Regions from separate parts of the Homo sapiens genome. Here region 2 is linked to region 1. The links are contacts of gene promoters, found by promoter capture Hi-C in human tissues and cell types (Jung and others, 2019). All regions are on one chromosome and are shown on one strand. The core of a region is centred on a gene start or on the middle of the fragment in contact, and the rest is flanking DNA. Distances in the headings are between cores, read along the strand shown.

Region 1 (4,680 bases), core at 1,621-4,120:
ATTGAGTGTGTTAGGCCACAGGAAACAGACTCTCTCCTTCTCCTGCCCTCCTTTCACCTGCCCCCAGGCAGGACTCTAATCTTTCCTGGACTTTCCAATGGTTGTTCTTAAGACCATTCCCAGAGAGGTTCCCACCCTATACCCCGGGGGAAGGAATGCTGACGTTATAAAGCTTTCATAAAAACCCAAGCGGACAGGGTTCAGGGAGCTTTGGGATAACTGAACACATCGAGGTTCCTGGAGGGTGGTGCCTGGGGGAGGGCTTGGAAGCCCTGTGCCCCTCCTCCCACACCTGAATTGTTTTTTCTTTTTCCCTTCATGAAACTCTTCCCTGCTCCTTGTATGTGCCTCCATAGTCATTATAAGATTTTATGATAATTTTTACATGTCTCCCCGCTCCTAAGTACCTTCCACAGTGTCTAGCATGTCATAGGGAGTGATTGGTAAATAGCTGATAGAAAGAACAAATTAAACTATCAGCCTTGTGAATTTTCTAAATAGAGGTCTGTACTTCTCATGCAGAATTGACTATGTTTTTTTCCTGCCCAGTAATTTTTTTTTTTTTTTTTTTTTTTTTTTTGAGACAGTGTCTCACTCTGTCGCCCAGGCTGGAGTGCAGAGGCACAATCTCAGCTCACTGAAATCTCCGCCTCCCAGGCTCAAGCGATTCTCCTGCCTCAGCCTCCCGAGTAGCTGGGACTACAGGCATGCACCACCATGCCCGGCTAATTTTTGTATTTTTAGTAGAGATGTGGTTTCACCATGTTGGCCAGGCTGGTCTTGAACTCCTGATCACAGGTGATCCACCTGCCTTGGCCTCCCAAAGTGCTGGGATTACAGGTGTGAGCCACCACGTCTGGCCTCAAGTAATGTTTTTATCAGTATTCATCTGGAATTCCCTGCTAGACCTTTCATTCTTTGAAGACAGACACTGCATTTCCTTCTGTACTGTAGACACCAATGTTTCATGAGTATATTTTGTGTTGAGCAGAATTGTGGGAAGGGAGTGTCTCTGGGTGATCATATCAAGCTAGAGCTGAGATTCTCCTTCCTGCTCCAGTTCAAGTCTGACTCTCAGTCAATCTTAAAGCCACCTGGCCTGGTCCTGGAACTGAAGAACAGAGACAGAGGTTATTTGTGAGATGCAGGGAGTGTGTGCCCGGGGTAGGGGGGTCTAGACTAAATGTGTGTTCCAGGAACCATCCCAGGGTTTCCCTTGGGGCTGGCATGCTGCTAAGAGAGTCAAAGAGGTCAAGGAAGAAGAAGAAAACCTGGAAACAGCAAGAGAGTGGGGCGCGGGCGGGAGGTGGAGGCCCAGGCCAGAGAAAAATAGGAAACATAAGTTTTGAGTGCAACAGACTGAGCACTGTTTCAAGAGTCTGGCAACCTGGATTCTTTCTCTGGCTCTGTTCCTGCCTTGAGCCATGAAGGAAGGAAAAAATATACATGAGTGCCCACTGTGTCATTTCATGTAGATTTTATTCCAGTTTCCCAACAGTCCTGCAGGAAGCTGGGGTTGAGAGAGTAGATCATTGGCCTACAGACACACAGCCCAGCCTAACAACATAAATTAACCTCTCAACGTTAAATGAAGTAAAATGAAGTTCAGTTCTTAAGTATCTTTAAGTTCCTTTCCTCTCTAACTTCTACTAGTAGAATATTTCTACCAGTAGAAAAAAACAAAAGAAAACCCAAACAACTCTCAACCATGGGCCAAGAGAAACTAAGAAATCGATATTGAAAGGCCAGGAGGGGCAGGAGAAGTGGCTCAGGCCTGTAATCTCAGCACTTTGGGAGGCCGAGGCGGGCGGATCACTTGAGGTCAGGAGTTCCAGACCAGCCTGGCCAACATGGTGAAATCCCTTCTCTACCAAAAAATACAAAAATTAGCCGGGCGTGGTGGCACGCACCTGTAGTCCCAGCTACTCTGGAGGCTGAGGTGGAAGAATCGCTTGAACCCAGGAGGCGGAGTTTGCAGGGAGCCGAGATAGTGCCACTGTACTCCACCCTGGGCGAGAGTGAGACTCCATGTCAAAAAAAAAAAAAAAAAAAAAAAAAAAAAAAAAAAAGACGGGAACGTGTGCAATGTAAAGAAGGCTGGATGAGAAGCCCAGGGAAGTCCTGAGCTAGCTTAGGAGAGATCTTCAGGTGTGGGCGTAGGCATGAGCCGCTGCCTCTCTGTGCCTGTTCCTCATAGGGTCACGGCAGGTGCAGAGCTGGAATTCAAGTCGGCGCTGGGGCTCAGCTGGAGAGGATCCTGGCGGCAAAGCTTGCGAATTACACATATAAATCAGGGAGAGGAAAAGCAAGCGGACTTCCTGCAGCCCTTGGGGGTTGGGAGTGGGGTGCGTTTCCTGCGTCCCTGACCCGGGAAGGACGCTGTTTGGTGGTAGCAAGCACCTAGCCAGAGAGTGGCTGGGCACCTAGCCAGAGAGTAGCTGGTAGGGCGCAGCTGAGGGCTGGAGGGCTTCATCAGAGAACGGCGCTCAGCTAAGGTACCTAGCCAGGAGAGGGTGGAAGTCATTCCCCAATTCCCATCCTTGCGCCCCCCGGCTTAGCCCACGCAGCCTGGACAGAACTGGAGGAGGGGTGCACCTGCAGCTCTCAGCGCCCCGGCTGACCTCGAGGACCCCAGGTTAGGGAGAGCTTCCGAGCGCTCCGACAGGAGCAGGGAGTTGGGGTGGGTAGCTCCGCAGGTGCACGCTGCGGCCCTTAGGGCGACAGCCTCGGAAAAGGCGCATCTCCGGCTGTGGGTTTCTCGGGGGCGGGGCGCAGGGGCGGGGCGGGGCGAGGGGCTCGCAGAGGCCTCGGGTTGGCCGAGCCGGGAGGGAGGAGCATTAGTATTAGCATAGCCCCCGCCCCCTGCGCGCAGCAGTGCCCAGCAACCCGAGCGGAGGCGGCCGCTGCAGCCCGGCGCTGAATGGGCTGGCGGCGCCCGGCTCCGTCCTGCCCGCGGCCGGCCCCCGCGTCTGCTCCCTCCCCGCCCGGGCCCCTGTCGGCCGCCGCCAGTCCCCGCCCCGACTGTGAATGAAAGGCGGGCGCCGCCGAGGGCTGGCTGGGAACGCCGCAGCGACGCCGGCCTCTCGAGAGGCGCGCGCCCCGCCGAGATGTACGGTAAGGAGGGCTCCGCGCCCGGGCCCGGGCCCGCGGGGGCGACTCCGCAAACTTCCCCGGCGCGGACCATTGTCCCCCTGCACGGCCCTGGCGCGGGGCCAGGCCGCTGACCTGGTGCCCGGCGGGGCTGTTGCGGTCGCTCTGTGCGCGCGCGTCTGCGCTGCGAGGACAAAGATGCCTCGGGCCGGGGACCCTGGGGTCCTCTCCAGGCCCGGCGCGTGCCGGTGCTGGGCGGTGGTCCTTCGGGGGGCGGAGGCTCAGGGGAAAGCGGGTCTCCCGGAGCCGAGCAGACCGGGAGTGCTGGAGGAGGTGGTCGTGTGGCAGCATTTGCGGAATTAACAAAAGCGGTTTGTGCCTGGGAGTTTTCTGTGGGAAGCCGGTCCAGGGCTGAGGGAGACGCCCGCGGCCGGTCGTCTGCGCGGCTCGGAGAAGGCGGGAGGCGGCGCCGGCGGCGCAGAGGCCCGGGGAGCAGCCAGTGGCCGAGTCTCGTCTCGCCCGCCTGAATGGACTCGGCCTCTGCCTGCCCCTGCCGCCCCGCGGGATCCAGGTTCACCAACTTCCAGATTTTCCCTCCGCAGTGATGAAGGGAGGAGACGCTGCTGAGAGGGTGCAGCACAGCCCTGACCTCTCCCCGCCTCCACCGCCATCCCCTCAACTGCCGTGCAACAGTTAGCCAGACCCTCACGATGCACGGCTCTGCTTGATCATTTGCTAGGACTCCCTCTGGTTTTGCAGGCAGTGTGGGTGAAGAAGAGAGAGCGCGTTGGGTCCCACATTGCAGCTCTGATGAATGGAGCACTGGAGACCTAGACCAGTCTAGGAATGGACTGCATTCCTGAGCCTGCAGCCCACCAAGGGCTGTGCGTGTGTGTGTGATCCCGGTAGACATAAGTCCATGAAAACCCAGGTCTCTGGCAGCTCTTCTAGTGCCAGCAAAATAATTGGAGCTGTGCTCACCTCCCACCCCCACTGCAAGGTAGGGGCTCAGGCTGCACTTGAGGGGTCAGTGTTTGGAGAAGAGTGCGTTCCCAATTTAACCCATCACTGAGGCTGCTCGGCTGCTCAGCTGCCTCGCTCCGCGAACAGACTGTGAGTCACAAAGTTTGTTAGAGGCAGAGGAAGCTGAGAGCCTGGTGGAAAGGCTCAGCAATTGGTGGGCCCCCCTACTGAGAGAGAGAGAGAGACTGACTCAACTTTTTCATCGGTCTCCTTCCCTGCCCAGTTGCTCAGAAATACGTTTGCATTTCTGATCCAGGGTGAGACATCAGCAGGTCCCCTCAGCAAGTACCATTTCTCTTGGACCAAGTGGGAGGAGGGGGAGGTTGGCCTGAGAGGCTGTGCTGCTGACCACTGGGGACTCTGGGGAAAGGTAAAAAGGCGGTTATGCTTTATAAGCCAGAGGTTGTGATATGTATGTATATATATAGGAGTATGTGTGTATTTTTTTACTCTCTCTGTTTTCCCCCTCTTCTTTTCTGCAGAGGTAGCAGCCTGAAGCTGCAGATCATTTGACAAAAGCATGTGACTGCAGGGGCACCTGCAGTGGGGAAGGAGTTAGGACAGGCT
Region 2 (4,680 bases), core at 1,217-3,716, 47 kb before region 1:
TCTCAGACCAGATCAAAAACCTGTCTTCCCATTTGGTGCACTTTCCTCTGATGGATCCCACCCTTCACCTATTTTACGTATACCTACCCTTCCCTAATTGTTTTTTTTACACTGTCATGCCCATCTTTGAGTGGTACATTTTAGAGTAACCCTGCTTATTCCTGCGAACCAACCAGCAATCTCCAGCTGCAGTTCAGAAGAAACAAAAGGGCTGGGTAATGTAAAAATCTGGATCAATATTCTAGTTCTGGGCAATTATTCTGCAAATCCTGCCAGGTGATAGGAGTAAATTTATTAGATATAAAATCAATATTTCCAAATTGATTAGATTTCTAAAATAGCAGTAGACAGAAAATATAATTTGAAAATATCATTTACAGTAGCAACAAGCTACAACAAATATATCATACAAAGATTAGTAAAACCTCTAAGAGAAAATAAACTTTATTTAGAGCTGTTAAAGAATACCTAAGCCGGCCTGACGCAGTGGCTCATGCCTGTAATCCCAGGACTTTAGGAGGCTGAGGCGGGCAGATCATTTGAGGTCAGGAGTTCGAGACTAGCCTGGCCAACATGGTGAAACCCTCTCTGTACTAAAAATACAAAAATTATCTGGGTGTGGTTGTGCAGGTCTGTAATCCTAGCTACTCAGGAAGCTGAGGCAGGAGAATTGCTTGAACCCAGGAGACAGATGTTGCAGTGAGTTGAGATTGTGCCACTGCACTCCAGCCTGGGTGACAGAGTGAGACTCTTGTCTCAAAAAAAAAAAAAAAAAAAAAAAAAAAGAATACCTAAACTTGGCGCGGTGGCTCACACCTGTAATCCCAGCAGTTTGGGAGGCTGAGGCAGGAGGATTTCTTGAGCCCAGGAGTTCAAGACCAGCTGTGGCAACATAGTGAGACCCTGCTTCTACAAAAAATAAACAAAATCAGCCAAGCATGAAGGCATGTGCCTGTGGTCCCAGCTAGTTGGGAAGCTGAGGTGGAAGGATCATTTGAGCCTGGGAGGTTGAGGCTGCAGTGAGCTGAGCTCATACCACTGTACTCCAGCCTGGGCAACAGAGCAAGACCTTGTCTTAAAAAAAAAGAAAAGTAAGTAAATGAGAAGATATACCATATTCATTGTTAGCTAAAAGTGTAAAGATGTCAGTTCCCCTTAAATTAATCTATAGAACCAATGCTATTACAGGTACAATCCCAAAGAGAATTTGACAAGATGATTCTAAATTTTATGTGGAGGCACAAAGGATTGATAATAGTTAAGGCACTCCTAAAAAAGAACAAGTTGGGAATACCGGATATCCAGACTTATCTTAGACCCTCTAAGAGTAAATATAAGCTTGCCATCCATGTATTCAGATCCTCCAGAATCACACTCCACTTTATCTGTCCTATCTCATCTGCCTGTGCTCCTCAGCATGAAACGTTTGTTCCAGTCTGCTTGATCTCACGGTCTGCTGAATTTGAGCTGTGGCCACCTCCCTTTGCCTTTGCTCTTTCTGTTTTCCTTGCCTTTAATTTACTAACTCCTCCTTTCTATCAACCCCTGGCCTGGCCCTACTCAAATATTACCTCCAATATATTTATATATTTTTGGTTCTCCAGTTTACATAAGTCTCTTTCCTCCAAACTCTTATACCACTTTTTGGTTCTGCTATTTATTCTTCTATTTTTTTCATATATAGCATAGAAAGAGAGGAGAAAAGGGAGAAGGGAACACAGAGCTGGGCATTCAGAATTAGCCATATGTATGCCTGATACAGCTGATTAGGAGCTCTACAGTTTCCCTGAACATGGATCCAAGATCTGACAGAAAGCTTGCCAAGAGCCATTGAACACTCACCGGCTGACTTATATGGGAAGCGTCTTACAGCCTGATAAGATCTTACAGAATCGGTGGCAACCTGAAGTTGTTTTCAGGACATAAGAGCTATTTTTACCTCTCTTCATCTGGTTAACAGTTTGTCCATGAAAACAAAAAGACTAAAAACCCAGACACAACCTGAATGTCCACCAATAGGGGTTCTGGCTACATTACAGAACAACCACAGGCAGCTAGTTAAAAAAAAAGGGAGACAACTCCATGTGACTGACAGGGAATTATCACCAAGAGATAGATAAGAGAAAAAAAAATCAAGGTGCAAAACAACATCACCATGTGTGGCTTTTCTTGTTTGTTTGTTTGTTTAATACTCATGGTTTTGAACCTGCAGAGAGACTTTGGTAATTGTGGGTGCCTAAGAAGAGGGACTGAGGGTTGGAAGTTAAGAGTAGGAGACTGGCTTTCCACTGAATATCCTTTTACAACTTTTGTATTTTGTACCCTGTGTAACTATTGACTACTCAACAAATAAATGTTCAAGAGGAAATAAAAGGAAACAAAGATATTGAAAACAAACCAGCAAATTAGATGGTGTCAAAGGACAGAATTCTGACTTTTGTACTGTATCTTAGAAGACCAAAAGCAATGCCTAGCCAGGACAGCACGGTCCTCATTAAAACTAAGATGACCTTCTATCCTGACTTTCAGCTAAAGTGTGAAGTGGAGGAAGCACAGAGCTAAGCTATAGCTGCAAAATTCAGTACCTTTAAAAAGATACTTGCATCAGAATTATAACTGGGAGAGAATGGGTTGCTTAGCACTGGTTATTCCAGAAAGAGAACCAAATTACAAACCATGCCTGTAATCCCAGCACTTTCGGAGGCTGAGGCAGATGTATCACAACGTCAGGAGTTCGACACCAGCCTGGCCAATATGGCGAAACCCCATCTCTACTAAAAATACAAAAAAAATTAGCTGGGCATGGTGGCACATGCCTGTAATCCCAGCTACTCAGGAGGCCGAGGCAGGAGAATTGAACCCAGGAGGTGGAGGTTGCAGTGAGCCGAGATGGGGCCACTGCACTACAGCCTGGGCGACAGAGAGAGACCCTATCTCAAAAAAAAAAAAAAAGAAAAAGCCAAAAAATAACCCTTTGTAGTTGCAAACCACAAGCTAGTTATTTTTTTTGTTTGTTTGTTTTTTTTGTTGTTGTTGTTGTTTGTTTTTTGTTAATGGCACAATGAAGTCAGGGACTCAGGTTCTTTTTTTTTTTTTTTTTTGAGACAGAGTTTCACTCGTCGCCAGGCTAGAGTGCAGAGGCGCGATCTCAGCTCACCGCAACCTCCACCACCTGGGTTCAAGTGATTCTCCTGCCTCAGCCTCCCGAGTAGCTCGGATTACAGGTGTGCGCCACTACACCCAGCTAATTTTTTAATATTTTTGGTAGAGACGGGGTTTCACCATGTTGGCCAGGCTGGTCTTGAACTCCTGACTTCAAGTGATCTGCCCACCTTGGCCTCCCAAAGTGCTGGGATTACAGGTGTGAGCCACCGCGCCCAGCCCACATGCTAGTTTTTAACCCACTTCCTGCTGGAAGGAGAGAAGAGGTCTGTGACTTCTGCTCAGCTCCACCATGGAGACCAAATCAAGCAGGCTTTGGAACTGCTGCTTCAGGTGAATGGTAACCAGAAACCCAGGGAATTTATAGAAAGGGCAAGGTCAAAGAGCTGAGAAAAAGACTTAAGTCATGGTCAACACCTGCCAATGCAATGGTGTAGGCATGAAAGGGCTTGAAGGCTGAGAAATGCCACTAAACTAAGTGACAATCCCCAGCATCTCCCTTGAAAAGGTATTAATGGGCTTCAAAATAGAAAAACTGTTAGTTTGCTGTGAGGCTTCTTGTTTATTTATTTATTTATTTATCTATCTATTTATTTATTTATTTATTTTTGAGACAGAGTCTCGCTGTGTTGCCCCAGATGGAGTGCAGTGACGTGATCTTGGCTCATTGTAACCTCTGCCTCTGCAGGCGATTCTCCTGCCTCAGCCTCCCGAATAGCTGGGATTATAGGCGTGTGCCACCACACCCAGCTAATTTTTGTATTTTTAGTAGAGATGGGGTTTTGCCATGTTAGCCAGACTGGTCTCAAACTCCTGACCTCAAGTGATCCACCCCTCTCAGCCTCCCAAAGTGCTGAGATTACCGGCGTGAGCCACCGCGCCTGGCTGAAGCTTCTTTACAACTATAAGTAATTAAGTATGGCAGGATGGATGGATAATTTTTGGGATTCAAATGTCAGATTCATAATCATATTGTTCAGCAAGGAAAGGAAAGCAGGTCCACTGATGTGTTCGTGCAAGAATAGCTATTAACAGGGGTCCATGGAACAAGGTCTAGAGGATCTTGGCACTTAAATCAAGATAAGGTTTTTTTATATTAAAAATATTTAATAAAGACATTATCACAACCTCTACAGTCCCAATGAATTCTCAGAATTGGTGAATTTTACAGGGCTAAAGAAGAGAAAAAGAAACCAGAATATCCCTTAGAAAAAGTGAACACGTGGCAGAATTAAGGTCTGGAGTAGCAAAACAAATGGTATAGGTGGGCCTCTGCCACTTATCCAGATCTCTGGCCAGTGAGTTTCAGTGCATGGGGGCCAGTTGATCTCCAACCCCAATCGGAGTTCTGGTGAGCCAGCTGGGCTCAGATGAGAGACTTCACAGCCTGATTTGCTTTCAGCGTGAGAGAGTATGTCATAAGCAGTATCACTGTGAATATTTGGCCACTTATTTTTTGGCATTTTTCACACCCCAATTTATTGACCACATTTGAAGCTTGGGGAGATGAGAGATGGC

Evidence for each region. The method cuts DNA at HindIII sites, captures the fragments that hold promoters and counts their contacts. A contact is called where the count stands out against the background at its distance.
Region 2: a contact is called between a fragment that was not itself captured here and the fragment with the promoter of EFR3B in region 1, in 1 of the 25 tissues and cell types used here (dorsolateral prefrontal cortex).

Annotation. Positions count from the first base shown.
Region 1 is chr2:25,039,206-25,043,885 of GRCh38, forward strand. EFR3B (EFR3 homolog B) reads left to right here and starts at 2,871. Exons shown (of 23, transcript NM_014971.2): 1 at 2,871-3,114. The coding sequence starts at 3,108. DNAJC27-AS1 (DNAJC27 antisense RNA 1) reads left to right here. Exons shown (of 3, transcript NR_034113.1): 3 at 1-489. RefSeq lists enhancers at 1,879-2,828, 2,829-3,777 and silencers at 2,735-3,354, 3,485-3,564, 3,675-3,804, 4,135-4,264. The HindIII fragment of the contact is 5,946 bases long and covers 1,221-4,680 here.
Region 2 is chr2:24,992,162-24,996,841 of GRCh38, forward strand. All of the region lies in intron 1 of DNAJC27-AS1 (DNAJC27 antisense RNA 1), which reads left to right. Among named protein-coding and RNA genes, the nearest start is that of DNAJC27-AS1, 22 kb to the left of the region's middle. The HindIII fragment of the contact is 3,779 bases long and covers 578-4,356 here.